Regions from separate parts of the Homo sapiens genome. Here regions 2, 3 and 4 are each linked to region 1. The links are contacts of gene promoters, found by promoter capture Hi-C in blood cells and fetal thymus (Javierre and others, 2016). All regions are on one chromosome and are shown on one strand. The core of a region is centred on a gene start or on the middle of the fragment in contact, and the rest is flanking DNA. Distances in the headings are between cores, read along the strand shown.

Evidence for each region. The method cuts DNA at HindIII sites, captures the fragments that hold promoters and counts their contacts. A CHiCAGO score of 5 or more calls a contact.
Region 2: a contact is called between a fragment that was not itself captured here and the fragment with the promoter of MYO1B in region 1, in 1 of 17 cell types (monocytes). The highest score is 5.5, in monocytes.
Region 3: a contact is called between a fragment that was not itself captured here and the fragment with the promoter of MYO1B in region 1, in 1 of 17 cell types (monocytes). The highest score is 7.1, in monocytes.
Region 4: a contact is called between a fragment that was not itself captured here and the fragment with the promoter of MYO1B in region 1, in 1 of 17 cell types (total CD4 T cells). The highest score is 6.0, in total CD4 T cells.

What each region holds. Positions count from the first base shown.
Region 1 is chr2:191,242,249-191,249,943 of GRCh38, reverse strand. MYO1B (myosin IB) reads right to left here and starts at 4,540. Exons shown (of 31, transcript NM_001130158.3): 1 at 4,318-4,540. It overlaps MYO1B-AS1 (MYO1B antisense RNA 1), which reads left to right and starts at 3,769. Exons shown (of 4, transcript NR_186085.1): 1 at 3,769-4,025; 2 at 5,871-6,324. RefSeq lists enhancers at 1,736-2,529, 4,032-4,654 and a silencer at 4,230-4,619. The HindIII fragment of the contact is 11,846 bases long and covers 1-7,695 here.
Region 2 is chr2:192,195,229-192,202,923 of GRCh38, reverse strand. No RefSeq gene overlaps it. Among named protein-coding and RNA genes, the nearest start is that of TMEFF2, 4.1 kb to the right of the region's middle. RefSeq lists an enhancer at 7,470-7,695. The HindIII fragment of the contact is 657 bases long and covers 3,387-4,043 here.
Region 3 is chr2:192,176,596-192,184,290 of GRCh38, reverse strand. It overlaps TMEFF2 (transmembrane protein with EGF like and two follistatin like domains 2), which reads left to right. Exons shown (of 10, transcript NM_016192.4): 4 at 4,597-4,623. Among named protein-coding and RNA genes, the nearest start is that of TMEFF2, 14 kb to the left of the region's middle. The HindIII fragment of the contact is 6,862 bases long and covers 668-7,529 here.
Region 4 is chr2:192,151,622-192,159,316 of GRCh38, reverse strand. The region is part of intron 4 of TMEFF2 (transmembrane protein with EGF like and two follistatin like domains 2); the gene reads left to right. Among named protein-coding and RNA genes, the nearest start is that of TMEFF2, 39 kb to the left of the region's middle. The HindIII fragment of the contact is 2,296 bases long and covers 1,892-4,187 here.

The DNA of each region.
Region 1 (7,695 bases), core at 3,291-5,790:
CTCCTCTATGCTGCTTATGGTAAGTTGGAAGGTGCTCACCTGTTAGAGTTTAGCAAACCATGTGTCTGCCTCTCCTCCAGAGGCAAAAGTCTAAAATAGCCAGTGGAGGAGAATTTCATAGCCTGAGGAGACTAAAGTTACTCTCACCTATACCACAGAACTTGAAGACCCCAAATGGTGTCCTAGCTTGAAATAAATAAACAAGGCAGAACTTCCAGTCTTCAAATTCTTATCTTAGAAACAACAACAACAACAAAAACCTAATATTGACTTTTCCATTTGCCCAGGAGCATTCTGAGGAATCCACAAACAATCCATGATGCCAAGTGTTAAACTCCAGTCTGCTCCTGTACTTGGTGTCAAAGTCTGGTACCTCTTGCCCAGTGCCACTCTCAGTGCCACCCTAAGGACAGATACCACTGCTATTCCCTTTTCATGCAGATGCCTAAACTAGTTCACTTCCCCTGTGGGGAAGGGATGAGCACAAAAATCATGTGGAATGAGTGTTCCCACAGAGCTCAGAAATTTGATGATCTCAGAGGATACTGTAAAGAAAGACCCTTGACACTTCCCTAAGGAAGAATGCCTTCTGTAAAAGGCTACTGCCAGGACAAAAAGCATGTGCTGGGAAAAATCTATGGCCTGCTGCTGCGAGTGTTTCCAATTCTGATGTCCCACTTCCTCTTTATAAGCACATTCCTTCCCTCCTTATTTCTCTTCTTAAAAAGACACTCTGGCATCGGGTCTCAGTTAAGAAGCAAAGTGCAATGTTCTATTAAAGGCTGTAAGATAAAAAGGGCTTAAAATGGATTTCAATAAACATAAAAGCCTTGAGTGCAATATAAGATCTACTCTGTTCTACCACTTTTAAATGTTTCGAAAAAAGAACTTATTTTTAAATGTTGGCAACCTAACTTTTTAAAAGTAAAGTTTCATTCACTTACAGCTTATTCATACAGGCCATAACATACAGCTCTTTAGCAATACAGTTCTAAGAGTTGTAATGTCCTAACCTGGGCTTCCAAACCTATCTCACAGTGGTTTTTGGAAGAATCAACTACAATAATAGACGTGAAAGTAATTTGACATCTGCCAGGGGCTAACCAACTAGATAATCAAACTGTTGTTATTATTAAAATACATCATACCATACAGTATATACCTAAAGAGTATGGACTTTGGGATCCCCAATCGCACTTCCACCACTTAGTAGTTAGCTACACAAGCACAGAGGGTCCTCAATTTACAATGGTTCAACTTAGGATTTTTTTACTCTATAATGGTGCAAAAATGATAGGCATTCAGTGGAAATCATACTTAGAATTTTGAATTGTGATGTTTTCTGGGGCTAGCCACATGTAGTACGATACCCCATCACAATGCTGGGCAGTGGCAGCGAGCCGCAGCTCCCAGTCAGCTACACCATCACAAGGATGAACAACCAATACTCTACAGTGGACTGTGTTACCAGACGATTTTGCCCAACTGTAGGCTAATGTGACTGTTCTGGACACATTTAAGGTTCGGTAGATTAAGTGTATTAAATGCATTTTCAACTTACAATATTTTCAACTTATGATGGGTTTATCAGGACATAACCCCATTGTAAATCTAGGAGCATCTGTACGGTGTAAGGGGCAAGTTACTTAACTCCTCCAGGCCTCAGTTTCCACTGGAAAATGAAGATAACACCCACTTTATCAAGTTGTTGTGATGATGAATATAGTAATGTATGTAAAATTCTTGGCATGTAATGAACACATACTAAATGATAGCTATAATTATTGTTAGGCTATTTAATTAAAATCCAAATGTTCAGCTATTGAAAACAGTAGAAGGGAGGTAGAAGACAATCTTACCCAAAGGAGGACAAATGCTAAAAACATGGATGCTACATGCTGAAGATCCCTTCTTAGCCAAACACCACCCACTCACCTCACTCCCTCTTCTTCCCCATGATGTCAGACGTTCCTCCTTGCTTTGCATAACTGTGCAGCAATCAGGGTAAGTTAGTCTTTAACTCCAGGCTTGACAAAGTGATGATTCATCCTGGGAAGGGGATACAGCCTGTTGCCAGCCTTATCACACAATCAGGCATCCACCAGAACGGCCAGAGGCCAGAGACCAGAGACCAGCCACTTAGGATTCTGCTATCTGTCCACATCTCCAGTAGCAGCAATGTTCAGATGCTTTACATTTTGTTAATGTATAGAACAATGAGTACTTGAGAGGAATTCAATCGTGTTGTATTTTATAAAACAATTCACAGCATAAGTGAAAAGTCCAAAATGGTAAGACAACAACAACAAAAAGTCTCCCTCTGTTAGCTGCCCTAGCACAACGTTTTGCCAGGCAGTGTGTTAGTTCTAATGACAAACAGCTTGACAGTTGGACACCATCCCATTTCAACTTCACATCATAATGGCTCCTGAGGACAACTCCCAGTGCTTTTCAGCCTGGCCTGAAAATTTGACCACATCCCCCACGAAAAAGACAAACCCTCAGCAGTAGCTTATACAGCTCTTTTCCATTACCACTTAGTGGGCAGGAGATATTTTTTTCCCCCACAGCAAGCTCCTAATTAGCCTTCTAAGGTTAAGAGGCTTTCAAACTTGGTTCATCTCAAAATAAATGGCCAAAGGGGTGGTTTAATGGCGGACCCTCAGCTTGTCAAAGAGGCAGCTCTGGGCCACTTCCCAGCCCTGTCTGCAGCCAGACTACTACAACAGAATGTCTCCTAAATTATCACCACAGTAATGCTAACCTTCAGTCCGACTTTGGGAATCCTCCCACCAGTGTCCCACAGGCACAAACCATGAATGCCTGGAAATGTCAGCCTCCTCCCAAAACAGTTTTGCTTGGAATACCCCATTCAAAAAACACACATCATTCAATCCCCCATAGCTCCCTCCCTAGGTCAGCCAATCCTTTGGCGAGTCTCGATTCCAATCTAGGAAAGGTCACTTAACAAATGTCTGACACATTACATTTAATTCTACCACCTCTAAACGATCCTCACACAGAGAGTGAAAGCACAGAACACTTCAATGCCAGGGCTCCTCAGTTCAAACCCCAAACGCTGGTGTGTGTGGTGTGTTTCCTGGGACAGACTGTAAAAGGGTTTTTCAATTGTGTTACATAGTCTGATTCATTTATTTATAGCAATGTCTAATTTTCTGGTGGTTTCTGCCCTCAAACAGTCCTGGAAAACTGTTGTACTATATTATACTATAAAACAATTTTACGTCAAAATTGATTCTATAAAATTTGTCTCCTACCCATTCCAGCCAATATCCACTAGCTACACACACAGACCCAGAGGCACACACATACACACCAATACCATAGTTCATAGCAAAATTTTTTCAAATCTCAAAAAAAAAGGGGGGGGGGCTTCTTTCACTGTAACTAAGAAGATTTGCTTTGAGCAATCTAACATTGGGAACGCCTAGAAACTCAAGAAGCACACAACTTGTTGCAGCAATAAACGCTGGGCCGAAGCCTGAACAAAGCACTACAAATAAGCTCTAGAAACTCACATGGCCCTTGAACAAAATGTTGTGTGTTTGTAGTTACCTCTCCAGCGCGCTCTCATCACCCTCTCCCAACCCTCTCCCCAACTCTCTTCCCGGCCCCACCACCCTTCGTAGCTCCCGTCTCTAATCTGGTTTCCATTCCAGCCCCGCCCCCTTCCCCTTCCCTCTCTGGGACCGTGAATCAATCCCATCCCGGGCAGGAAACGAGACCCAGGGCAACCCCCTCCGCTGCGGCGGAACAAAGGAGGCGAGCGCAGCTGCACGCGCAGGGAGGCCCACAGCGTCCCGGGCCCCTCCTCCCCCGCCGCCGCCGGGGCACACCGCACCTGAACCCCACTCCCCAGGACGCCCCATTGTTCTCCCTCCGCTTTCCTGCCCGGAGGAAGCCACACCGTGTCTTTCCAGGGGGCCAGGAAACAGCTGTGGGCCAGAGGAATGGAGGGGCTGTGGGTGAACACGAGGACAGCCGAGATTCGACTCTGCCCACAGGTACGAGAGGCATGGGGCAAAGTAAGAGCAACTTAGTTTACAAGCCCTTCTTCCCTCCCGCCACCCCCGAAGCCACTGCGGAGTCACGACCACCCTCCGCAACCTACAGCGTGCGCCGTTCCCGCCGCAGCGCCGCGTCTCCCAAGAGAGCGGCAGAGCCCGCTGACCCCCGCCCGCAGGGTGCGACGGGGCCAGGGACCGCGGGCACAAAGGCGCGGAGCAGGCGCCTCGGGGGCCGACGACGGACGCAGAGGGAAGGGCAGGGGAGAGAGAGAGAAAGCGCTCGCGCTACCTCGCCTGGCGCTACCTCGCCGGGCGCCACTCCGCCTCCACGTCGTCCTCGCTCTCCGGTGGCGCTCCGGGACGCGGGCCCAGCCCGGGGCTGCGGGGCTCCCGCCGCGGCTGTTCTGCCAAGGCTGTCCCGCGGCTGCCGGCCGACTGCGCGCCGCGCGCTCTGGTACTGCCTCCACGCGCCGCGGTTGAGGCTCCCGTGCGCACCCAGCTGCGGAGTGCTCAGCGGCGGCGGGAGGAGCCCGGCCACTCCCCTCTCGCCCGCTGGCGGAGGGGCCGGCCGAGGGGCGGGGGCGGCGACCTCGCTGCCTGGGATTCGCCCCTCGGCGCGCGGGCAGGAACGGGAGCCACCGCCTCCGAGCCGACTCACCTCTGTCCGCCCGGTGCCGGCTTCACAGCGCCCCCCGGTGAGCGTCGCGGCGGCCTCCGCGCCTTGCGGGTTTGCGGCCCGACCCTCCGCACCCGGGGCGAGCCTGGATGGGACGAGGCTTGAGGGAAGGAGGGGCGATCGTCGCGGCCCCCACGGAAGGCAGTCTTTCTACCTTTTTTGCTTCCAGACTCACTGACATAAAATGAGAAATACAACATTTGACAACTCGAAGCCAGCCTGGGGTCACATTCCGGCAAACAGTGGGAGTAAGTCTCAATTTTTCCTCCTCCCCAAGATGAAAATTTTTGGATGCCGAGAATATCAGAAAATATTAGTTTCACAGAAAAAGAAAAAAATTATACTGAGTGGTGTGGTGTGTCTTCATTTACAAGACTTTTAGTATCTTTTAAATTACTTAATCTCACATTGTGGGAAATAGACACTGGCCAATTCTTTGTGTTATAAATACATGAGAGGTAGTTTAAAAGAAATTTCAAATACCCATACGTATTTGAATAGAGTGTATTAACAGGTCCTGAGTAATGATCAGTGATGGGGTATATTATACAGGCATGTAGGGGCCAGAGAATCAGGACACCCCCCCTACACACACACACACACCTTCTCACTCAAGCCCTATTGCCTCATTGGAGAATTTAGAACAATCCTCTTGACCCAGGTCCTGGTTTCTTCATCCTCGCACAGGGAAGGGTGCGCATTCAAACTTACTCACTGGGTGAGATGAGGATTACTTGGCTGAGGTGTTAAAAGCACTGTAGACACAGTAATTATTACTCATGGTTCTAACTACTTTATCCTATAATGAAATAAATTGCCATAAATGGGCCAGGTTTAAATGGACTGACCTGTATCTGGAAACTGTCACTAAAGTGAGGTGAACCAAAGAATTCAGACCATATATAGTAACTGTTCCCACTGGCATAAGAACCACAGGCGCTGGGATTTGTTAAATGCCACTAGTAGAGTTTGGAAAGGTGGGACCTTCACAGACTATATCTGCTGGGAACTGTCTCATCATTGATGTCACCATCAGCATCACTTCAGATGTACAAGTGGTGTGATAATGGGCGAAACTAACACATACTGGGTACCAGGGACTGTTCTTTGTTTAATCCTCACAAAAAGCTCTGAGGTAAGTTTCTCTCATTATCCTTGTTTTACAGACCAGCAAAGCCAAGGACAGAGAGGTCTTCAGGGAATACATGGCTATGGTGGTTTGAAGACTCCCATTAGAGAGTGGATATTAATTGCCCTCCTTTTGAATATGGTCTGGACTTAGTGATTTGATTGTAACAAATAGAATACAGCAGATGTGATGCTATGTGACTTCCAAACCTAGGTCATAAAAGGAGATGAAGTTTTCACCTGGCTCTCCCTTGGGACACTCACCCTTGGAACCCAGCTGCCATATTGTGAGGAAGCTCAAGCCACAGGGAAGGCCATGTGTAGGTGTTTGGGCTGATGGTGCCAGCTGAGGACCTGGTCTACTGCCAGTACAACTTATATCAAGCATGTGAGTTGGCGAGCTTTTGAAAGAACTCCAGCCACAGTCACTGACCACGCTGCCTGAGAGACCTAGAGAGAAAACCTAGCTGAGCCAAATCAGGCCCCGGAAACGTAAGTGATAATAATAAAAGATTGTCATCTGGGTGGTTGTTACATAGCAATAGACACCTAGAACAGTGACAGAGCTGGAATTTGAACCCAGATAGTCTGACTCTATAGTCTTCACTATCAAGCACACTACCTCAGACCTTGATAACCTAGCATAATGAAAACCCTGGAGATCCCAGCCTTCACAATAGGCAACATATGAACCTGCTACCTGGTGACGTGTGTTAGACTCACTTCTCCATTTTGCTTGTCTGAGTTTAGGTTCCCAAGTGACTGCTTATAGCAGTTTGGCAGTTCATGGAACTTCTGACCTCTACTGTCCAGTTCAGCTTTTCAAAAATAGCAGAAATGCAGATGGCAGGTTCATGAATATAAGATGTATACAAATTGAAGAGTGGGGGAATTCTATAAACTTTTGATCTTGGAAGGTGGCCAGATTTTAGAAAAAGTAGGTTTGAGACAACTATGTGCTGAGTAGGTCTATCAAAATAGCTAGCTACTAGAAGTAAAGTTTTGAAACTCCTGACTCAAGAAAGGGATAGGACACAGTTATGTCAGAACAGTTCGGCCTCTAGAAGGACCTCGCATAGTGAGGACAATTAAGACTTTCTCCATGATTTTAGCAAGTTCAAAAAAGAAAATAATAGAAACTGTAGAACTTATCCTAATAAACACTAAGAAAATGAACCAAGTTATTAGCCAAAAATATTTCTAGAGAAAAATCATGCTTCTCTTTTAAAAATACTGTTTACCTAGTTTTCATAAATCTCAAAACCCAAGTTTCTGAGGACATACAGGTTTTAAAACACTTTTACCTTCCTGGCCATTTTTTTCAAAAACCAATCAATCAACAACTTTTGAAATTATAAAAAGCAGATTAAAGTTATTCCCACAATTGTCAAGAATAGATAATAGGCTGGGCGCAGTGGCTCACACCTGTAATCCCAGCACTTTGGGAGGCTGTGGCAGGCGGATCATGACGTCAGGAGTTCGAGACCAGCCTGGCCAATATGGTGAAATCCCATCTCTACTAAAAATACAAAAATTAGCCAGGCGTGGTGGCACGCTCCTGTAGTCCCAGCTACTCAGGAGGCTGAGGCAGAAGAATCACTTGAACCCAGGAGGTGGAGGTTGCAGTGAGCCAAGATCACGCCAGTGTACTCCAGCCTGGGTGACAGAGCGAGAGTCCATCTCAAAAAAAAAAAAAAAAAAGAATAGATAATAAATCCATCAACTACAAAGGCATTTTTTACTTTCTCCTCAATCTATTTGGAGGAAACAGAAAGAAATAAAAAGAAGTAGAAAACTATTATTGAGATTTAGGGTGAAAAACATAAATTATCAAATTACAAGAGTGCAATAAAAGAATACAAG
Region 2 (7,695 bases), core at 2,466-4,965, 950 kb before region 1:
CCTTTCCTTTCATTTGAAAACCTCAAATTTTGCATCAAGAGAATTTTCATTTATTTGTTTTATGGTCTGATGAATTGGGTAGTGGATTTCCTGACATGAAGCCATGGGAATACATAGATAGCAAAAATCTAAAAGCATAATAACACCCCCAAAACACAAATAACATACTCTCATAGTGAGGCAATAAAACCAATGACCACCCCTTAGGGAACACATAAGCAGAAGATGTGAACAGTTAAAACTCACTATCCCTTGCTTAGGCAACCTCTGATGTGCTCTGATCTTCACATTCTCAGTGCTGGACTTTGACTCTAAAATAGGTCTTGCCCATAAAAGACAGGGTAAAAGAACTTCCGGGTTATTCAAAGGGGATTTCACTACCATCCCTGGTAACAGTGTAAATAGATGCATTCTTGCCAAAGTGTGTCGATTAATACACTTAGTTTTAACATTTCAATTTAATTTACCACCATTTGTTGCACGCCAACTATGTATATGTCAATTTGCTACATCTTGCTGTATATACATATATGAAGAATGATGTACCTGAGCAAAAATTAAAGATCTTTACAATTCAACATTATTTGACTCTTACATTCAAAAGCAAATCTAGTTGGGCACTGTGGCTCATGACGGTAATCCCAATACTTTGGGAAGTTGCAGAAGGAGGACTGCTTGAGGTCAGGAGTTTGAGACCAGCCTGGGCAACATAGTGAGACCCAATTTCTACAAAATATTTAAAAATTAGCTGGGCATGGTGGGGCCCAGGAGTTTGAGATTGCAGTAAGCTATGATAGTGCCACTGCATTTCAGCCTGGAAAACAGCAAGCCTCAGGCCCTGTCTCAAAAAAAAAAAAAAAAAAAAAAGAAAATCTTACATATGAAAGTCAGAGAATTTACATAATTATTAATAAACTAGTTCTATAGTTCATTAAAAAGCTCACTCGCTATACAGATGTCTCCCATTTTTAGGTGTACTAAATGTAAAGTATATAATTTTACAATAATACATATATAATATATAATAGACATCTATTATAGATAAATGCAATCTATAAACACTTATATCCAAGATGGGGATGGTAGGATCACAGTGAATACTGGTCCATGCAGACAAAGAAGGATGTAAATAGCTAAAGTAAAAAATAGAGACAATGCTGCCCCAGAAAGATTAAAAGTGTGCTTTAACTCTTGATGATTTCCTATTTGTATATTTCAGTCCTTCCCATAATCTATGTCCTTACTCCACTAGAGTTCCACAACATATTCTTCCTCTTTTTACACCAGGGTTTCTTTGTTACCTCAGTATTAAAATGAACTCTGGCCAAGACAATATATAGAGGCTCAGAGAAACTAAGTAACTTATATCCATCTTGAATATAAGTGTTTATAGATTGGCTTTATCTACAATAGATGTTTATTATATATTATATAGTATTATTGTAAAATTATATATTTTACATTTAGTACATCTAAAAATGGGAGATATCTGTATAGCGAGTGAGCTTTTTAATGCTTATAAATGTCAAGGCAAAGACTGCAACTCAAATAGTCAACAGCTGCCTAGCTCCTGTCATGTGATCTTGCCATGTCATTATATTGGAAGCTCTAATAATAATCAGCAAGTGGCTAAATGTCCAGATTTATACTGTAAAGAAATAAGTATAGACATGTAAATAAGTCAATTAAATTCTCTTTTAAATCTTTTGAATTTTCTATTTAAACACTTTTAACATGTTCAACAACATAAGACTCAGTTTTTTGGAAAGTAGTGTTATCAGACACAATCTGTATCTGATTCTGTGTTACAATCACTGCTAAGGAAATGACAGTATCCAGTTTAGAATTTATGTAAGGTAAAATAAAGGAAGGAAGATTTTTAAAGGCGGTAATGTGGTGGAGTACAGGAAAGGCTAACATTTTAATCATTTTCCGAAAATGCTTATGATGTCAGAATACATTACATCAGAAGATACAATTGTGGAACATTTACACTACTAATGTAAAGACCTGATTGTGAGCTGACTTCATTGGTGAAAAGACAAGTCAAAGGGAATGACCAGCCCTGGCACCTAAAAATGGCAACACAACTTTTCAAAAGGCTCATTCATTCCTTAAACTATTGCTACTAATGGAGTAATATATGGAAATCCATTGCCATAGTTTATTGTAGTGGTTTCTTGCTAAAAGGGATTCATGATCAAATAATGTTAGAAAATCTGAGGTCAATAAAGTTAAACCGGTGTTTAGTTTTGCTTGATGTGTTTTGGCTTGATTTCACTGCAGGGCTCCTCAGAGCCTTTAATGTGTAAATGCACACTGTGAAGCTTCAAGTGAGCGATGTTTATATTAAGTTTTCCTAAATATTGTATGAAAGAAGTTCCTCCCCTCCATTTTTCTATTTTTTCTTTATTTATTTTTTTAGAAGAACGACAAGTGGGTAGAAGAGCAGCAGCAAAGCGGCTGGGAACATTAGTGCTCCGGGGGTCTGTTCTACCACTAACAAGTAACTTGGAGAAAAAAAAAATCAATGTCACAGATAATAAAGGGAGAAATGATTGGGGCTTATGGTATGAAATAAATGAGTAAAATGCTCAGAATATGCAATACTGGATGGTGTTAATAATACAAATTGGAAAGAACTACCTTTACTAAGTCTTTTTCTAATTTCCCCCAATAGAAGCCATGAGTAGCCAAAGAGAGACATGAAAGGTAGTTTCATTCCAAGCTGATTCTAGTTCCTGTTTCTGACTCCAGAGAATAAATTTCAAAATGAGTTTGAAATAAAGCATTAGGCTAAGCCCTAAGAAGGCTATGATTAAATTAATAGCAATGGAAACCTACTTGAATTTATAAATAAAAAGACACCAGATTGTATAGAGATGACTACTGCTTATTAAATCTAGCTCTCTTCCAATAACAGTTCTTCCTTTTTTTTTTTTTAACTACTGGCAAGCTAGTGGCAAACATTAACTAGTTCATATTGCTTTGGCTAGATGTTTTAATAGTCTTTGGTGAGATATGTGTTTTACAAGTTTTAATGGAGAAAAATGTAAGTATTTTACCTCCTGAAACTTGGCTATTTGAGTAATGAGAAAATAGTCACTTTCCCCAGGACAGTGGTTCTCAATCATGGCTATGTGTTTCTCCAGGAAAACTTTAAAAATATATATATACCAATGCTTCTGTGTCACTTCTAGGGATTCCAAGTCTTTGAATACGAACTCTGCATCAGTATTCTTTAATTATCCAGGTGATTGTGATGTGAAATCATGACTGAGCCCCACTGCTCTAAGATGAAATAAACTTTCCTCAGCACTGAAATCACAAACTTAAACTACCAAAATTAATTAAGGGCATGGGAATCAATAAGGCATAGGGAAGCTTTTACATTATAAAATTATTTCTTTAAATCACAGCTCATTGTTTATATGTTATTTGCCATTGTAGAAAAGGGTGAAAAAATAGCAAATTTAATTACTCTCAGTTTGAAAAATTATCCAGAAATGAAGATGACGACTCTGAAACATTGTCAATATCATTTGACCTATAAATAATGTTCTAATACATTTACTACACACTGATAGATACTTTTTCATATGAATATTATACATTAAAACTAAGGCAATAATGATTTAGAACATTCTATCTATATCTATGTATCTTAAGTAGGCTAGAAATTAAGATATGAGTTATTAAGTATGAGATGTTAAGGTGTGGGGTTAGAAATTATACTGTACTTCATTATCAATAATCAACATATACTTCAATATCACATACATTTAACTTTAATTTGTACATCTTTAACTATTTTTAATTATGTGTATAAATATAAGTACACACATCTTTATGTATTTATTTATTCATACCTCCATTCACTTATTTATATAGGGGATCCCCCCAAATCCACTACCATTAAACCATACATTTTTATTTTAATCTTTAGAACAAGCCCAGGAGGCAGGTATTGTTATTACTCACATTTTACAAATGAGGAAATTGTCTACAGTCACAAAGTTACTGTGTCAGACATATTAGAAGCTTAATACATATTTGGTGAACATATGCATAAAAACAGAGAGACAGACATGTACAACAGCTCATCTTTACACTGAGTAAAAGCTTTTAACCTGTCTCAGAAACCTCTCTGTGAAAACTGAGCAAAAATCGAGGTATCCTTTCATTTGTCATATAGGTATAGGTGGTACCTTACTTCTCCAACAAGGATGAATATTGAAATGTGGATCCCAAGGCCCAACTCCAGATTTTCTGAATCCCTGATAGTGGGACTTGGAATTTGTCTATTGTTTCAAAGTTTCTCAAGGAATTCATATGATCAACCAGGTTCAGAAATCACTGGATCTTATTGCCGAAGTTTGAGAATTAAAGTTTGGGCCTTACTGCGGCTCCACAGAAAGGGCAAATGAAGTATCATGGACAGAACTGATACGTTCCCAGTTAGTTTCCCCTCTCAGAAGCTAACAGGCAGCAATACAGCAGAAATTAGTGACTTATGTCTTGTGCTCTGAAGTCAGGCAGAATTTCACAGAGTCCCAGCAGTGTCACTGACGAGATTTGTTTCTTGGGGCAAGTTGCCTGATGCTTTCAAAGCCATATTCCTTTTATATAAAATGAGATAATATTCTTTGTCTCATAGGGGTGTTTTAAAGATTAAATAAAAATAACATGTTCTATCCTACATGGCACAATGCCTGACACCTAAGAAGCAAAGGATACATCTTACCTTTATTGAAGCAATCAGAAAGTATGAAATCATGAAGGAGATAAGAGTTCTGATTGGCAGTGTATCTTATTTTCCCAGGTTCATTTATTTATCTTAAACTATTCTTGTTGGAGAATAACTCCCAAGCCCCCTACTTAAGCTGTGAGTAATCTCACACTTTATAATGATGTTCTTTCCATGAGAAAAAAAAATGTTCTTAAGTTTTCTGGAGAAAATATATCTGCACTATTTCTACTGAAAAATCTAACAACTGGACTCTGCTCCTCTGCATCAATTCTAGAGTGTATATGCCACAAATAAAGTGTTCTAGCTCAAGAAGATTGAAAGTAAATATGGTATAGTATTTTAAAATAAGAATTTTGCAAATACATGGTATGATTGTGTCATATTACTAGCAATCATATGATACGCAATGCAAAGTACAGTTCATAGACTTAAATTTAATTCTAATAAGTAAACTGATTTTGCCTTGCTGGGGAAAAGTTAAAGCACTAATCCAATTGCTAATGCAGTCTTGTCTACTTCTTTGGTACCTAGTGACAAGTCTAAATAATGTATATATTTTTATTTACATATTCAGTAATACAATTCTCTGCTCAATGAGTGATGTTCTTCTGCCACTTGGTGGTGCTTGCCAGTTTCAGAATTTGTTTCTTGGTGGCACTATAACACTAAGTACAGAGTAAGTGCAACAAAATTGCAGCATTCCCATTGAAAAGGCTTTGCTTCAAACTGTTTAATAATTTAAAGGACCTCTGTGGAAGCAACCGCATTTGTTAACCAGTTACAACCAGTAATTAACTCCTTTGGAGTTTTAACTTACTTTTGGCAAAACGTCTTAGGAAGAGCATATATTATTAGAAAGTATGCCAAAAATTTACTTAGCAGAAAATTCAAAAACAGTTTTCCTCTGCTAAGAGGTTCTCTAAAATTCTACTTACATAGCCAAACTCTGAAATCCTAGCAGGTCCTGTTTCATTATCATAATTACTGCATAAACACTTTTAAGGACTTTGCCTTTAGTTTCAAGCATGACTTATTTTCATAAGCCTGATTAGTTACCACACCAGCCTTGCTATGGAAAATGACATGTTCTCATTCTCTGCTGTAGAGTTGTTAAATCTTGATCTATATTTATGTTGCCTTCTCTGCTGAAAGCCTGTAGCGAAAGAAATTTCTAATTCCTTGTTTTGCAATATTAGTTGGCAGCTCTATCTAATGGGTATTCTGTTTCCTTAAAGAATTTAGCTGCTCTGTCTAGAAGCCGATTTTCTGATGCCTCCAACGTCTGGTCTAATTGATCTGTTTTAATGGAGTCTTCGTCGGTGAGGAGCGAGATGCCACCGACTAGAATGCTGGGATCTGCTGCTTAATTGCCAGGAGTGAGAGACACTGAGATTCAGAAATCTTTGGAGGTGGGAGGGGAGAGGGACAGTCTCGGACGGAGGCGGAGATGTAAGATAAAGGGATGGATTTCACACAGGAAAAAAAAAAAGATTTCGTTGAGGCACTGAGGTGCTGCACGATCACATCTCTCAAAGGAGAAGTTAAAAAGCAAGGAAGTGGGAGGAGGTTGGAGGTTAAAGTACTTAAAAGGATTACTCGGGTACAATTTGTTTTTCTGCTGGTGTCTGCAAAGGATAGATAGTCCCGTTTTCAAAGTATATGAATGCCTCTTTTAAGTGATTGGGAATGGACACTAATTGCCTGTTAAATGTTATCAAATGCTCTCCTAAATTCAGGGGACACAGAAAGAGGGGCACAAAAGGAGAATTTAAATAGAAAAAGGGAGGATCCGGAGGCTTTTGAAAGCGGGGGGAGAAGAAGGAGGAGGGATAACAGAGAGGAATAGAGAAGGAGAGCGGAGAGAAGATAAACAAAAACAAAAACAGGAATCACTGAATAATCACACACCAAAAAGAAAGCTCTTCCCTATGGGGCATCCAAAACACTGAGACTGCAATAGTGACCCCGGTCATGGAAGAAAGATGTTCCTCTCCACCCTTGTCCCCGAAAGCTCTTGGTCCCGTTACTGGCGACTAAAATTCCATTAGGCTAAAGAGTGTGTCTAACTGCCTGAAGAATGCAGCAGACGGAAGGCGGGTCCCGCTATGCCGTTTGCCCTTCCCGCTGGAGAGAATGAAAGAAACGCGCAGAGCCAGAGACTCCTGCCGAGTTAGACCTTCTCTCGTCGCCCCAGGTCACCGGCCATCCGGCAAAGACCCGAGTAAGGAACGCAGGGTCACTGCCTGGGCCAACAAATGGAGCCCGCTCTCCCCTTCCCGGACGCCGCTGCCCGGCCGATGCTCCCGGCAACCCACCCGCGGCGTATGCAGAGGAGCCTTTCTCTTTCTCTCAGACCACTTGTCCCGACCAATCTGACCTTCCAAACACATCTGACCGCACCTCCCAGGTGGACACACTAATAGGCTACGGGCTGGAGAGGAGCGGGTGATGAGGAGAGGGATTCAAACCTGCGAACGCTTGGGCTGGGTCGGAGCTGCGGGGGGCCTGGGAGGAGAGAGGGGAGAAGAGAGAAGGAAGGAGAGCGCCTGCCGGGATGGCTGAGCTGCCTCGGCGAGCAGCCTTGGGGTTGCACGCTCTTGTGGGAGATGCTGCTGTTGCTTCCAGGTCGGCAAGAGCGGTTCTAACACCATCGCCTCTCACCCTCTTTCCTGTAAATCCCTAGAGAAACGTCCCTGGCCTCTCCGCCGCGACATTCCCAGCCTGCATCCCCCTACAGCCTAGGCGGCGCGCTCCCGCACGCTGGAGCGCCGGTCGCCAGCAGGACGCCCTCTCCCGCGCCGACTCGCCCCTCTCTGCCCTGCTGCTGCTGCTCCTCTGACACCTCCGCCCCCACCATCTCCAGCTCGGAGAGACGCCACCCAGCCGCGGCCCGCACTCGCGGCCCGGGGTCACGCGCGGAAGAGGGGCGCTAGTCCGGACCCCGC
Region 3 (7,695 bases), core at 2,849-5,348, 930 kb before region 1:
ATTTCTTGTTATCTCCCAATAAATAATTCAGATTATATGTTGACTAGACAAGCCGTATTGTTTTGTTCAAAACATTTGTTATTCTTATTCTTTGTCATTTTTACATTTCAAATCACTTTTGGAAGAAAGAGGATATCTACCATAAGGACACTGGTAGATTTAAGTACGTATGTCATTAAATGAAATACAGGCAGGTTGAATAAAAGCCACATATAATTAGAAATCTAGATAGACTGCCAACGTGCCAAATATGGAGAAACCTGACTATGTATGAATACAGTTGTATTGTTTATTTGTGTTTGTTTGTTTTGAACAATAGCATTATCTGCTGGAAGGCAATCTTGCAGGTTTGGGCTCTGAAGTTGACGTCTAATCTTAGCAGCTCTACAAAATGGTCTTCTTACTATTTAGTAGATTTTATTGACTAATGTGTTTGTAATGGACATAATTTCTAGTGACATTTGTCATTTCTGACTCAATTAACCTGGGATTCTACAAAGTTTTTTAGTCATGGCTTACCAACAATGCTATAAAGGAAGTAAGAAGAAAGAGTGACTTCATGTGCTCTGTAGCTTTTCAAATTTTCCTTGTGTCTACAGTGGTTGTTAGAGCTTATGCTTTAAAATGGGGAATGCTTTAAAATGGGGCTGAGTTTTCAAGTTAAGCTTGATATCAAAATCACATATATTGTAGAGGCTGTAAGGTGCCATAATAGTTGTTCTTAATGGCAAATAAGCATCTTTCTGGAAAGTCATAATTCCTGAGAATTTGGATGATATAAGCATATTCAGGAATAATAACAACGTCATCAATTATAAACTTTCTCTAAAAATAGAAGCAGAGAATAGTGTCATGAAAAGTCTATTTATTCAAAAGTCCCTCTTAGATAACAGGTATTTCTAATCTAGTGTATGATGTTAAAAGTTATGTGCTAAGTGACTGGGGCAGGGTGGAAAATGAGCAAAGAGAAAAGCCTCATATTCTTTAAAAGATTATCTTAAGCATATTGATTGTTAGTAATTGATAATACTAAGTTATACTGGTGACTACCCAAGTTTCTGAGAATTAGCAGAAGAAAGAGAATAGAATCATATCTCATGGCCAATGATGTTTTGTTTTGGTTTTGGTTTGTAAGTAGTCTTTTCTCCTAAGGGATTATTTGCTCAGATGTGAATGTTCTTCATGAAAGGGTGGTCAGGAGGCAAGCTGGGCTGGTACTCCATTTGTTTATTTGCTAAAGCAAACAGGTCATTGCTGCTTGGTCTGTGAGTGACAAGTCATGAATAAAAGAAACAGCAATATGTGAGAGTCAATGGGCAGCCTTCTCCAATAGGAAAGGAGGAGGACCAGCATGCTGCTCTCATACTAAGGATGGGGGATATAGAAAGTTTGACAAGGAGCAAACTAATTATGAGGAATCAGTCAGCCATACCAAAGAAATGAGAAATAGTACTTTAGGACAAATTGAATAGAAAAAAAGTAAAATCCCAGGAACCAGGAAGGATGAAGGCAAATACCGTAGAGTATTGAGGAAAGGATTTGCTTTTTCAAGATCAAGATCATGGAGGATATCTGTTCTTTTCTAACAATAGCCACATGAGAATTGCCAGGCAATTGTTATAATAAACAGACCAGAAGTTACGGTTATGGCCAATGTAGCAAAATCTCTCTTTCTTACTTGCCAACCTCCAAGTTCTTGTCAGCGCATATAATCACATTCTCCTGATTCATTCAAGTCTTTCCATTCTAGTCCCTGATGTGCTGGTTATACTATGAAAATAAATACTTAGCCAAGTAGAAAATTTAATCACAATCGAGTAATCCATCTTTAGCTCATTCACATACTTAGATTTCTACAGGATTTAATTAGTAAGCCAGTCTTGCTGAATGCATCTTCCATGGACTTGTAAATCTAAAAGGTTTTTGATCTGAATAATGACGGAGAGAACAAAGTAATTTTGATTAACCAGGTCTGACTGTAAATAAATTGGGGTTCTGACTTTTGATCTAAAAGGGATTCTCATTCTTTTCTTTGTATATTTCCCATTTATTTTTTAATGCTGTTTGACACTGAATGGAAGTGGCAAGTTGTAAGCTCTAGGAATAATAGGCAGTAGAAGATATAACTTTATATTTATTATATTTCATTGAACTTAATTTTTTTTTGTCCAGAGAATGGACTCTTATTGTGAAATCTGCTCAATGGTCTTACCGTCAATTTAACTTTTTGCCTTGTAGGAAATGCATTAACTAGGAGCTCAGATTTAGGTCTAACAGCATGACTTCTTTTCTTAGGTGTTTCTGTCTTACTAATAAGACTTTAGTAGGCTATTTATCATCAGTTGGCCAGGATGACTTATCATATAATAAAGGAAAATCATTAAAGCCTCCCATAATGATTTCATAATGATGCCATGGACTTAAGTGATCATTTTTCTAAACTATTCCTTCTTTTTTTTCCTGGCTGTTTCATTTGTGTCAAATCAAATATTGTCTTAAGGACCATGCCCCTTGAAGTTTTAGAAATGCATGTGGGAAATACAAGCTAAAATGCTATTGGCATTTTTTTCTGATTTTCCCCAGTCATATGTATTTATTAGAATACTCGTAGATGAATAGGCAAGATGTTTACTGTACATTTTAATTATTATGTTCCTGACAGTGCTTAAGCATTTAATATATGCTACTGTGCAGTAAGCCTCAAAATAGCCCAATCGGTTAGATATTACTGTACCCATTGAATAGAGGAGGAATATGCTTAGCAAGGTTGAATAACATTTCTCTGTCATGCAATGAGTAAGGTTTGGAGTTTGTAACTCCTAAGCCTTTATGCATTTCCCATTATGTTCATATAAGTGTAGAGTGATGAACAACACATTTTCCTTGACTTAAAGAAGTTTATAGGGGAAAATTTAAAAGAAACTATATACATTTAACTAAAATATATTTAGAATGTGTTATCACTGTAATACCACAGTCTGTTATTTAGCCCTGAATGAGTATAAGTAATACTGAATTAAACTTTCAAATTAATGCAAATACAATCAATTAAAATTTTTGTCTGTGAAAGTATACAAAAAGCACCCAAGCACTGTTCTGTCCAAAAGAGATGGTGTTGTGACTTATGACAGTCAGTTTAGTTGGTAGGAATATTCTAATATCAACATGAATTCATCAGTCTTTCTTGGTCTATTATCATTAAACAGTCAATTCTTATGATTAAAATCCTTGTTTGATTCTACATTTACTAAGAATAATTTTTATCATAAATTATTTTACCAATTAACTTGCCTTTAAGGAAAAGATATGCTGATCCAAAGACATATGTCCTGTCACATTAATAGTTAATTGATTACTTGACATTCTAATATAATAGTATTAGACCCTATAAATTTAGTTAATGTGGGCCTCCAACAAGACTGACAGTTCAAACTACTGCTCCTTCATGGTACTGCTAATGCCAATACATGACAAACAGGAGGGCTGCTGGGAAGGCCTTCCTTCTTCCATATTTGTCAGCCTTCTGTGGATTTTCAAACACCATGCCTCTTTCTATGTGGTGTTTCTCAATAAAGTATCATGGAAGCAAACAAGTAAAAGTCATGTTTTATTTTAATTGGACCGTAAATTCTTAAGAGTGGCATTTGGTATAAGTCTTGAACCCTGGGTGAGATTTCACTGTGGAATAAGGGCACATCAGGCAGAGAATATCAATATTAATCTTATTTCCCTGTATTAACATTAAAATACATAACCAAATGTATTGTGAACAAACAAAAATGGAAAGTCAGAAGGAAGATGATGTCTACACTTAAGAAGCAGAAGCAGATGGAATCGTAATGGTTTTGATTTCAACTTGAAATTTTGTGTGTTTCTGGGAACTACCTTCCCAGAAATAGACAACTTTGACCAATTGTAATTAAAGGAAGGAAGGGGAGAGAAGAAGTGGTGAAAGAAAAATCCAGAAGAGGAAGTATGATTTTTTCTGCAAGAATCATTTAGTGAATATCTGACTTTAAGCACAAAGGCAAAAATTAAGCTGTCTTCTACTGACTTCAAAAACAAAGGATGATTTGACACAGATGGAATCATCCACAATTGTGGTATTCGTAAAACATATCAACACCCATATAAAATATATTTCTTTTTAAACTGCTTTTCTCTTTGTTCATATGCAATTTGCAAGAATACAAGCCTTAATTATGGGTTTATTTGCCACACGCATTAGACTATTTAATTTCTGAAACTTACTGATTGTTACAAGCATCTCATTTTTAATACTTTATTTTGCTAATGGCACCAAATCCAGCCTGTCAAGATTAGGAATTTTTCATAGCCGAGATTAGGAAATTTTCCAAACGGGGCAATAATGTTTTCGTAAAGCTCTGGAATAAAAATGATGGATAATTTATTATAGAAGTTACATTAATAGATATTAAATTAAATTGATGTGAATGTACGTTTTTGGATTAAATATTAGTATTTTTCTCAAACAATATTATTGCAGTATTAAACTAAGAAAATAAACTTGAGCTTAAAAAGTCATAAATATTTTTGAATATGTTTTACTAGCAAATATAACTTTTCCCCCCACAGATGCAGGATCAGGATCTGGAGATGGAGGTAGGAGTTGCCTTTTTACATATTTGAAGATTTACTGGTGGATATTATTATGTATATTTACTTATGTATGTTCCATTTCAGATATTTAAGACAAATTTCATATTTTGCATTTTAGGAAAGGTGAAACCATAAAAAATTGTCACCATATTAAGTACATGTATATACCGTGCAAATTATTTGGCATACTTATGAATCATACTCTATCTCCAGTTAACCTTCCTTGTTCATTTGTTTGTTTGTTTGTTTGTAAGTTATCTTTGATATGGATAGGCATAATGTAAAAACTTCTGAAGAGAAGCATGTAAGCATATTTGGCAGGGAAGAAAGAATTCATGAGGAAATCATTTAAATATTGGATTTTTAAATATATGACACTGCTCTCAATTACTAGGTGCTAATAAGACATACATAACCTACCATATAGCCAAGGTTTTAATTATCAGATTTATAATTTGAAACTGAAGGAACTTTAGTTCATAAAAGTGAAAAAGATAAAATGAAGTCCAATGAAAGTAAAATATTATCTTTGCTTCCTTGATTAAATCTATAGTTATTTTTACTAAAGTATGATATATGTTCCCATTATTTAGTTTTGTTTAGGGAAGTATATAAGATGAGAGAGAGAGAGAGAGAAACTTTAAAAGTTTGATCTAATGTACTTACTACCAAATAAAGATTTTACCTATAGATTGAAACTAAATTGTAAATGTCCCAAATACTTTTCCCGATGAAATTCAAACAAAATTAGACTTTTATACACACAAAGCAAAACAAAACACAACCTATATATAATTTCAAGATTAAGAAAAACAAAACAAATAAAAGCATTCTCTCAAGACCTTGCTTCAGTTGTGTAAAATAATTAAATGTGCTATTCCAAGTTGATTTTAGTTTTTAAATACAGAATTTGATAAAAGATAAGTAAAAGAAGGCCTTGGGTTCAGGGTGGCAGATATTTAGTGCACCCTTTATCTAGTTCAGGAAACACTTGAAAGATTTATCAAGTTTCCTTATGTAATGAAAGACTTAACTAGTTCAAATAAGCAATACCCACAGAACATAATTAGAGCAGCATATTGGAGCACAATTTTTTTTTCATAAAGACTAAAACTGAACAGCAGCAGATTGAAACACAATTTTTTTCCTAAAGACTAAAACTGAACAGCAGTCAAGACTCAAGCATAGAATATGTTTCAATGTCCCATGATGTTGGACAGTCCTTTGATGTCTGGACAGTCTTTCTCTACTTCTAATAAAAGTTTTCCTAGCTGATTAATATAGTATTCCCAAGAAAGCGTCCCTAGAGGTTTTGAAAATAAGACCTTAGAATAGCATATTAAATCTTAAAGAAAAAAAAAAGACAGGAAAAAAGGCAGTTCCTTTAGTAGATGTTTTACCATGGGAATATTATTAATAAGAAATCAATTAATTTTTTAAAATGTTGCTTTTGTAAGGAAACAGTTTCTATGCAAAATTCTGTATATTTTCTAGCTGTTTAGTTTTATATGTAGACTACCTAATTTTGCAAATATTGTGCTGAGACTGAACTGTTCCACTGTTTACCCACCAGTCTTGTTAATTTTCTAGCATCTTTAAAGACAAAATAAAACATACCAAGAATGTCTTCATTTCTCTTTCTGTTAAAGCATCATCATTTACTTTTTTCTGCTTGACTATCCTACCATACTGTACTTCATATCTTTATTTTTCTAACAATAAGATGTGAACTTTGTTTCACATACTAGTTTCTAGTTTTCATTCATTGTTATTAGCACATGCAAATGGAAATGAAGTCAAACTCACTCTTCCCTGTTGCGTTTTATATTAAAATCTTTGGTTCATTATGTTGTCTTGTGATCTGAATAAGACATTTTTTCAGGAAATAATTTTAATCTCATGAATATGACATGTATAACTTATACCATATAAGTGAAACATCACTTGGAAAACACTTTATTTTCTTTCTCTTTTTCTGTTTTTTAATCACTCTTCCTTTCAGTTAGAGGTGCTTCATAGTAACTTGGAGAAAACAAAAACAACTTCCGATGTTTGCTTTAGAAAAAAAAAGCATATAACACATTTAATTCTGAGCTTATTCTTTTAAATAACTGCAGTTCTGAAAATTGTGGTGATGAGTATTTGCTCCTAATTGCATACAATTTTTAAAATTAGAGACTGATCAGGTTTTTCTCAACAGAACTGCTTGTTTTTCTAGTCTACATGTTACTTTGGTCTGTAAGACTATTAGTTTTAATTTTCTTTAAATTCTTTATTGAGGGATGCCAAAAATGCTTAGTAACTAAAACCTAAAAACCTAGTTTAGAATAACTTGCACAAATTCAGTTCACATATCCATTGGGTTGTAATCGTAAGATATATTTGACTTGCTATCTCTCTTATACAGATGATAGACTTTCCTCTGTATTTTTGTAGAATTCGTATTACCAAGGTTTTGAGAGGGCAGAATCAGCTTCCTTCATTTTTGAATAAAGCAAAAGTGATTGAATAACTTGTGATTGTTTGGCTAATCCAACAATTGTAACTAGTGATTGTTCTAACTAATCTCTATATAACATATTCTCAGTAATGTGTATTTAATTAATAATTGGGTTTACTTGGCAAGCACTTTGGATGGTTAATAGTTATTTTCTAATTTCTTATTTTAACAAAAGTTAATATAATTCCAAAATGGAGTACACTGAACAAAAGAGTGAAGGGAACAAATTTACTTGTAAAACATTTATCATGTGTGACTATCATAAATGATATCATTAAACTTACAAATCTAAAATCATGTAAAAATATATCAAATATTACTTTTTAAAAATTTTCCTATATTTTAGCGTGAATGAATATTACATTAGTAATGAAAATTAGACCTGATTATTCTAAAAATAATTTAAGCTTAACCCATTTGCACAAGGGTATGTCTGTCATTTACTGCATTTGAGAGAACATTTTTACTGCAATATAAAAGGGACATAAAGGTTTTATAAAATTTATTTTAACTTGTTATTGTACATTTTATAGGGAGTTCTAAAATCTTCAACCATTGACCTATTTATTCAGCTG
Region 4 (7,695 bases), core at 1,790-4,289, 910 kb before region 1:
GAAGAATTAGTCCCTGATGCTATCCTTCGGCCTTGATCCCCCCCTCAACACTCTCCTCTCTGTTCCTTCTTGTATAAAGTCTTGCCTTGGGGGTTTCCCTTAACTACAAATAACGGTAGCATAAAACAATCTGCATTGTGCCTGCGATTCCCCATTTAGCATTTGTTGACAAATAAGAGTCATCAAATATTTATTATTTATCTACAATGCTTTTAGCACTGTGGGGTTACAAAATAATCTTTATAGAATAATCTCTTGGCCTTGAGGAGGAGTTTCTAGTCCTTTGAGAGAGTGAAAACCTCCATACATGGAACTTCAGATCAGAAGGTATGGTCTGTAGTCATTCAGAAAAAAATGATCGCTCGACCCTATGTTAGGTAGTCAATAGGGAGAACCTTAGAAAGGAGTTGGGACATGAGTTAAACATTAAAGAATAGTTTAGGTGTTGAATAATTTGGCATTTTTATCATTTTCCGATTTGCTCTCTTTTTAAATTCATGTACTAAAGATTTCCTATTGACAAGCATACGATGCACAATTATTTTTATTCCTGATTTCAGTGGATCATTCTGTGAGTTGCTGTGGTTGTTTTTCTAGCTTTAGGAGAGGATTAATACCTTGAATCCTTACTTGTAAGTCTCACCAGCACTAGAGGTTTTAAAGTGTGGAGTAATAACATCTAATGTAAGGGAACTAGAGTGGAGACAAAAACATAGGGGAAATGCTAATTTTCAGTAGTCAGTGTAACCATGGGTAATTTTTACATGGGTTTGTGATATTCTGATGTAAATGCTTTAAAGTAGATTTTGAATATATTATTTTCTACTGAATATCGCATAGTGTTATTTTAAAATTTATTAGGAAATACCAACTCTGTGCCAAGTAATGAACATTACTGATGGCTAAAATGCTTGGCTAGCATCAGATCTGTCTAGCTTTATTAAAAATAATAAATCTAGATTTACAAAGTTCTTGACACACAATATATCAGAGATATAATCTCAAAAATGTATATCCAAATAAGTTCTGTCCTTTAAATTTGGTCCTCTATGAAATGATAATCATATCTGAACAGTAATACCATCATTCCATAGATTTTTTAAGTCTGTGTTTCAGTCTTTCTTAAAGTGCCAGTAGACGGCTGTACAGATAAATTTCTTACATTATTGTGAAATTCACATTTTTATGAAGATGGTATTGCCCCTGCTTGATCATCTGCTTCATAAATTCACATAACAAACATTTTGCATGGTACTCATACTGTGCCAGGGAGGCAAAAATAAATTTGGCGTGGATCCTGCCTCTAAGGATTGTACCACTGGTAGACTAAAACAGGTAAGAACTTGGCAAACGAACAAGGAAAAGGCCATTTGAGATAAAGGAAACGCACATGAAGACATGGAAGTGCGGAACAGCATGGCATTTTCAGGGAACAACAGATGGTTTGGCATGACTAGAATATGAAATGCAAGGAGAGAAAGGGTGCAGGTGATGCTTTAAAAAGTCATTTTAAGCTAGACAATGAAGATTTTTTAACACTTAAAATAATTTCCTATTATCAAAGATTTTATCTTTTTTACCATAGCCTGGAATAAAGTTATAGTGGGCTTTTCAGGTATACTTTTATTAAAATTTGAGGGAATAGGGACGGTAGAAACAAATAAATAAGCTTAGAAGTGCCATACGTGGTGTCAAAGTGATGTCTTGCTTTCACATTAAAAATAAATATATATTTACAAACTTCTTGACATATGATATATTGGAGACATCATTTCAGAAACGTATATCCAAATAAGTGTTACACTTCTTGTGAGCTATTTTGTTTTTTAGTCACAATAATTAAGAAAACCACAGAGTACAGAAACTAACTTTTATGTGTTTTTATTAAGCTTTAATACTTATATACATTAACTTATTTAAGATATATATAACAATCTAAGTAATACGCATTTCTCTTCCTATTTTACAGATGAGAAAACTAAGATTCAGAGTAAAAAAAGTGGCCTAAGATGTCCAGGTTACTAAGAGACAAAATCAATATTCAAACAGATATGTTTGGCAACAAAGTTAATAGTTTATACTGTGTTGCCACTTTACCTCAGTCAGACTTTATCTATACCATATTTGGGTTTGAACACCTTCTGTTCTAAAGAAATTTTAAAGTTTTCGTTAAACTGTCCCAAATGTCAGGTAGGAAAAGTTGACACTGATTTCCCTAAATCACAATATTCATATTAAATATTCTGGAGGTTGCCAGGGAAGAATTTCATAGCTATCTTATCTACACCATCCTATACAAACTGCATCTTGGTCCATTAATCCTCAAATTATGTTAAAGAAAAATTGGGACTATTATACAATCTCTAAGTGATAGTAGGCTCTCAAATGTGACTTTAAGAACATATGTTAACCTCTCTCGACCTTAATTCTTCATCTCTAAAAGGAACAGTTTAGACTAATAATCCCAGTGATCCTTCTGCGTGGTCTCAGGATTCTGTGCTCACTGCAAAATAAATAGCATTTCAGTCTGTAGATACGGTATATGCTGGCTTACAGGTGAGAGAGACACTTTAAGTGTGATTATTTTATAACCGCCAAATTCGGAATCGGATTTGAGAGCTGGGATTTTTGTGTTTATTTTTAAGAACTCTCATGGCCTACATATTTCTGGCATATGTAAAATTTGTTACTGGTGATATACCCTGTTTATAAACAGAAACTTGTTCTTTAAAGACAAGGTACCAATGTGCTTAATTTTTAAATCAATAGAAATAAACTAATCAAGAATACCCATCAACTGCATTGTGGAGTGGTTGTTGTATGAGGAGGCAGTAGGGTATAAGGATTAAGGACCCAGACTCTGGGTTTGAATACTGGAAATGCCACTTCTTCCTAACTGTGGAACTTTAGGCACATTAATGCTGTTCTCTGTGGCTTAGTTTTCTCATCTGTAAAAACAATTTCTGCCTCATAGAGTTGTTTTGAGGATTAAATGTATTCATGTATGTGTAGTACCTAGAACAGTATCCGGTACATATAAACATTCATGAAATGTTACCTGTTGTTAGCATTATGGATAAGAGATCACTTATTTGAATTAAAGAAGCTACAGAATTAATGGATAAAATAAAAATATTGAAGGTAAGCTGCAAGAGGGCAGAGGTTTTTGTCTGTTTTCCATATCTGTTTCCTGGGCACCAGCCTAAGTATCTGGCTTAGATTAAGTGCCCAACATATATTTGTTGAGTGAATAGTTCAAGATTCAATGACGTTGAAACCTCTATTATCTTGTTTTTTTTTTTCAAATGTTCCTCTGTATTTTAATGTTTCTTGTATTCAAGAGCATTAAGCCATATGCTATAAATTCTATAACATAATGAGTAGTAAGTAACAGCTTTGGTCTCTAGATTCCTGTTTCAGTTCCTCTGTGCTATTTTAAGCAGAAATACCATAAAATCTTAGATAATTTCTTATAAAAACAAGTGTTAGGCCTCATCTTTTTTCTTCTTTTTTTGACAAGTAAATAAAACCAGGCCTCTGCTTATTTAGACATTTCATGGGTCTTGGCAGTTCTCTTTGTTGTAGCAGTAGCTGTATTGATCCAGCTGTTGCAGTTGCTACTTGGGCAGCTGCTGGGCAGCATTGCCAACTGCCTCAGATGGTTTTTAAACTGATTTTAGAGAGAAAAACAATCCAGGAATTCCAGAAATACAGCTAAGCCTCCCCTCTCTCTTGTCCAATTAGCAGCTATGGCTTAGAACCATGGATTCCAAATACAGCAATCCTACTCTTTTGGATACAAACTAATGCCTATCTTGAAGAGTCTAAGTTGGATAAAAATCTCACCCTCAGTCTCAGTTTTAGTAATAATACTTTAGAATTACAGTTACTGTAAGCCAAGTGTTTATAAGGATTTTCATAATCTGTATCTTATTTTACTTAAAAACCCACGCTTTCTTCTCTTTACTCTTTCCCAGATAGACATAGTTCCTGAGTCACTGTTGATTAGCCAAAGTGACAAGGATAGCCACTTTAGTTAATGAAACTAAATTATTTCTCCCAAAACTAAATTATTTCTCCCAATAGGCTCTCGGTCAAAATCATGCTGATATATAAGGTGCTTTCCAGCTTTGTACTATCTTAAATATTTTATTGTTGTCTAAATGATTTTGTTCCAACCATAAGCTTGGAAAACAAGAAAATTGTATAGTACAACACCAAAACCTAATAATTGTCACCACAGGGTGCATTGGCCAATGGGAGGAAACTTTGCCTTTTTTATTTTTTTTAACAGAAAGAAATATCGATATCCAACTTAAAGTTCCCAGGAAGGGTATGAAAATTTCGCATAAAGATCTTATAAGTTTTATAGAAGGAGAGAAGCTGAAAACCCATTTAGACCTATTCTGCCCAAAATGCAGTGGTACAGAAACCTGTCAAAGTGGGGGAATGTACTTTCCAAAGACCAGGGATGAGAAGCAGGCAAGAAGCCCTCAAAAATCAGCTGCATGAAGATGGTGGTTGCAATATCACCAGCCTCATAAGAATATGTATATGTTTCAATTCCATTGTGGAGGTGGAATCTAAGCACAAACAGTCCCTTGGCGATCACCTGAACAGTCTCCAGAGAAAAGAGAGAAAAGAACGTACCTGCTATAAGCATTATGGAAGCTTTTATAATTTAGAAGGATTATTAAAAAGAGATGCTACTTTATGTGTTATCCCAAAATAAATGAAATAAGTGATAAAATTCATTAAGGTTGATACAAAGTTCTGTCTGTGGTCCTTATTGGAGACACAAGCACCAAAGTAGTTTCTAAATAGAAGCTCTCCACTGTTTTTGATTTGTGGAATTTGAGGAGTGAATGCCAGTCATGGCTAAGTCAGAAATTTAACTTAGCATGCTTACTGTACCAATGTAGAAAGTATACATGTTATCATTATGTCCATGCTTACTCAAACCACATCCTCAATCAGAGCGTCCTCTCTCTTATACAAAGCTCTATCACACACCAACCCTGAACTATTCACTAGAGAGAGTTGTACCCAGTGTTACATATTATTTAGTGTCTCTCCTCCCCACAAACATACACCACTTCTGGATGAGGAAGGTCATAAGTCCTGGTTCTAAATACTGAAGTGTAACATTGCCAAGTGTAACATTTCCCCTATAGTCTTGGACTCCTCTAATCATAGGAACCCAAGGGAACCACTGGAAGCACAAAGATAATCCTTCCCCATTTTCAAAAGCAGCCATGTCACTAATCAGAAACTGGTTAATGGAATTAGCATTGCATTTAACTTCCTCTGCCTTCAAATTTAATATACAAGCACTGTTTTGTATTCACCCTTCCCCCAACCATGTAAGAATTTAAGCTAGTTTTGATAGAATTTTCTCTCAAAATGAAAAAGCGATTTTATGTTTATTTAATGATTGAACCTGTGCCAGCCATTCTGGTGCGTTCCCAAGTAGGCATCAGCCATCTCATCCCTATTTGAGTAGCATCAGCACTTTCATCCCTATTCGAGTATAGAGTATTTTGAGCATTACAATGTACGTCAGCATCTGTGACAGATCAGCATCTTTCAAAACAGAAAACAATGTAGACAGCCTGTAATATGCTTTTCATACCACAGGTGTTGATTTCTGCCCCAGGAAATATAAGAATGGCACATCAACAGATATTACCCATCATGAGTTGTGTCTGAGTGTTGATTTTAAATAGTCTAATTAAAATGTCCCATGGTTGGCAAAATATTTGATGATCAGCTTGCACAATAGTTGTTGCTCTATCACAAACAGGGTAAAGTTGACCCTGGTACCTGATCATTGGCTGCCATCAGTGAATCTGCACAAAATGGAGATGCATCTACAAGTAAGAATTGGGGAATTGGCTACTCATCAATAAATTGGTAGGTATGAAATGGGTATATATGCTAGGAAAGAAGCACAGTGGGAAGTTAGATGCAAAGTCATCTGTGGAAATAATTATAAATCCATAATTTTTAAAAAAATACCAGTATTCAGGTATATCATGCTGTATAAAATGCAGTGAGATTATTTATAAGGGCTAATATTAAAAAGTATAGAAAAATATAATTTGGTTTAGATTCTTAATATCTATAACCTACTTCTTTTAAAAGGTCTAGTATATATTTTAAGCAAATAAACTAACTCTTAGATTTATTAAAAAGAGTAATAATTCTTAATTTAATAGTAAATATTAAATATTTAAAATATTTAAATATAGGCTCTGTACTGACCATTGAAGAATTTTCTTAAATTTAACATTTCCAATCAGTTTAAATTATACACCAAATTAACTAATATCTTCATGCATAAAAGTCTCAGTTTTAAGGTTGTAATGGAACCTGACTTGACCAGTTCATCCTTATGGTACATGCTGATAAATCCACTAAAGTAGGGTTTTGATTAAATATATTCTGAGAATGGTTGTCTTTGGTTATTATAATAGTTAGAAAACAGTTCTCAGCCTTCATCAACCTGTTAAAATTAGTGGCCTGTAGGTTATTCCAACATAGTTCTTTTGTATGTACTAGACAAATACAGTTGTTAGTTGAAATAATGCCAATATTATAAATGGATCAAATGACTCTGGGTTGATTAAATAATTGTCTTTTTTCTAATCTATAATCTGTGCTCACTTTTATTAAAATAGATTCATAGCAACTATCTGCTGTGTGCGGGTACCATACTAGCTACCTTCATAGACGTTATGTTTTACAGTCTTTAAAACGTGAATAAGAAGTTTTGCATCTGATAAATGTGACTGTGCCCCCTTGGGGCCACTCATTACTTTTACTGCAGCATCAAATCCTTTTTTTTCATGACCCTATTATATCATATAATGTCCTGGTCTCTTTCTTGCTTAACTACCTTCCATGAGGTCAGAAATGATTACAACAGCAATCATATTAGGTAATTTTAGTGCCTATGAAACAAGCTAAAGAGAAATCTCTGATTTGGTGAATTGAAAACCATATAGATATGGGGATGAAGAGTTCCTATGACTGATTTTCCTATCTGGATTCAAACCTTGCATTTAGTATAATATTTACAATACAAAAGACAAGCCTTCACTGTCACCCACAGTCACACCAGTGTTGTTCTCAGCTGGACAGTATGGATTACTTGAGTTATGCATGAGATAAAAATTGGCAGCCATCCTTGTGCTCTCAGCTCTTGGTTATGCATGAATGCATTATTCTTTTGTGGGTAACACATTCATCTCCGGATTACCACCTCATAATTGCTGTTATGGGACCTCAAGCCCTCTTCCTCCCTGAATACTTCCCCAACCACTCTAGAAGCCACTAAGGACATGACTCACAAGGTTCCTGAACAATTACCCTTAGCCAACATGGAACATCTGCCATTTTCCTCCCCTGCAGCCCAACTCTCTTTTGTCATATTGCTTAGTTAGCCAGGTGCATGCCCACTAGTAATGCAATCACAACCCACTTATGTTGCCACCTGTAGGCTCTCCCAAGATGAGACTATTTAAACATCTCATCACTAAAACTCCTCTGCAAAAATGTTGAGAATGTCTTCTTCCCATCATGTTAGACTCTCTCATGATAGTCCTTGCAGGGTGGGCCTTCTGAGTGTCAGAGAAAAGTTTGAGAACAATTTACTTCTCTGGTTCCTGTTTACACTTCTAGTCTGGGGGACTA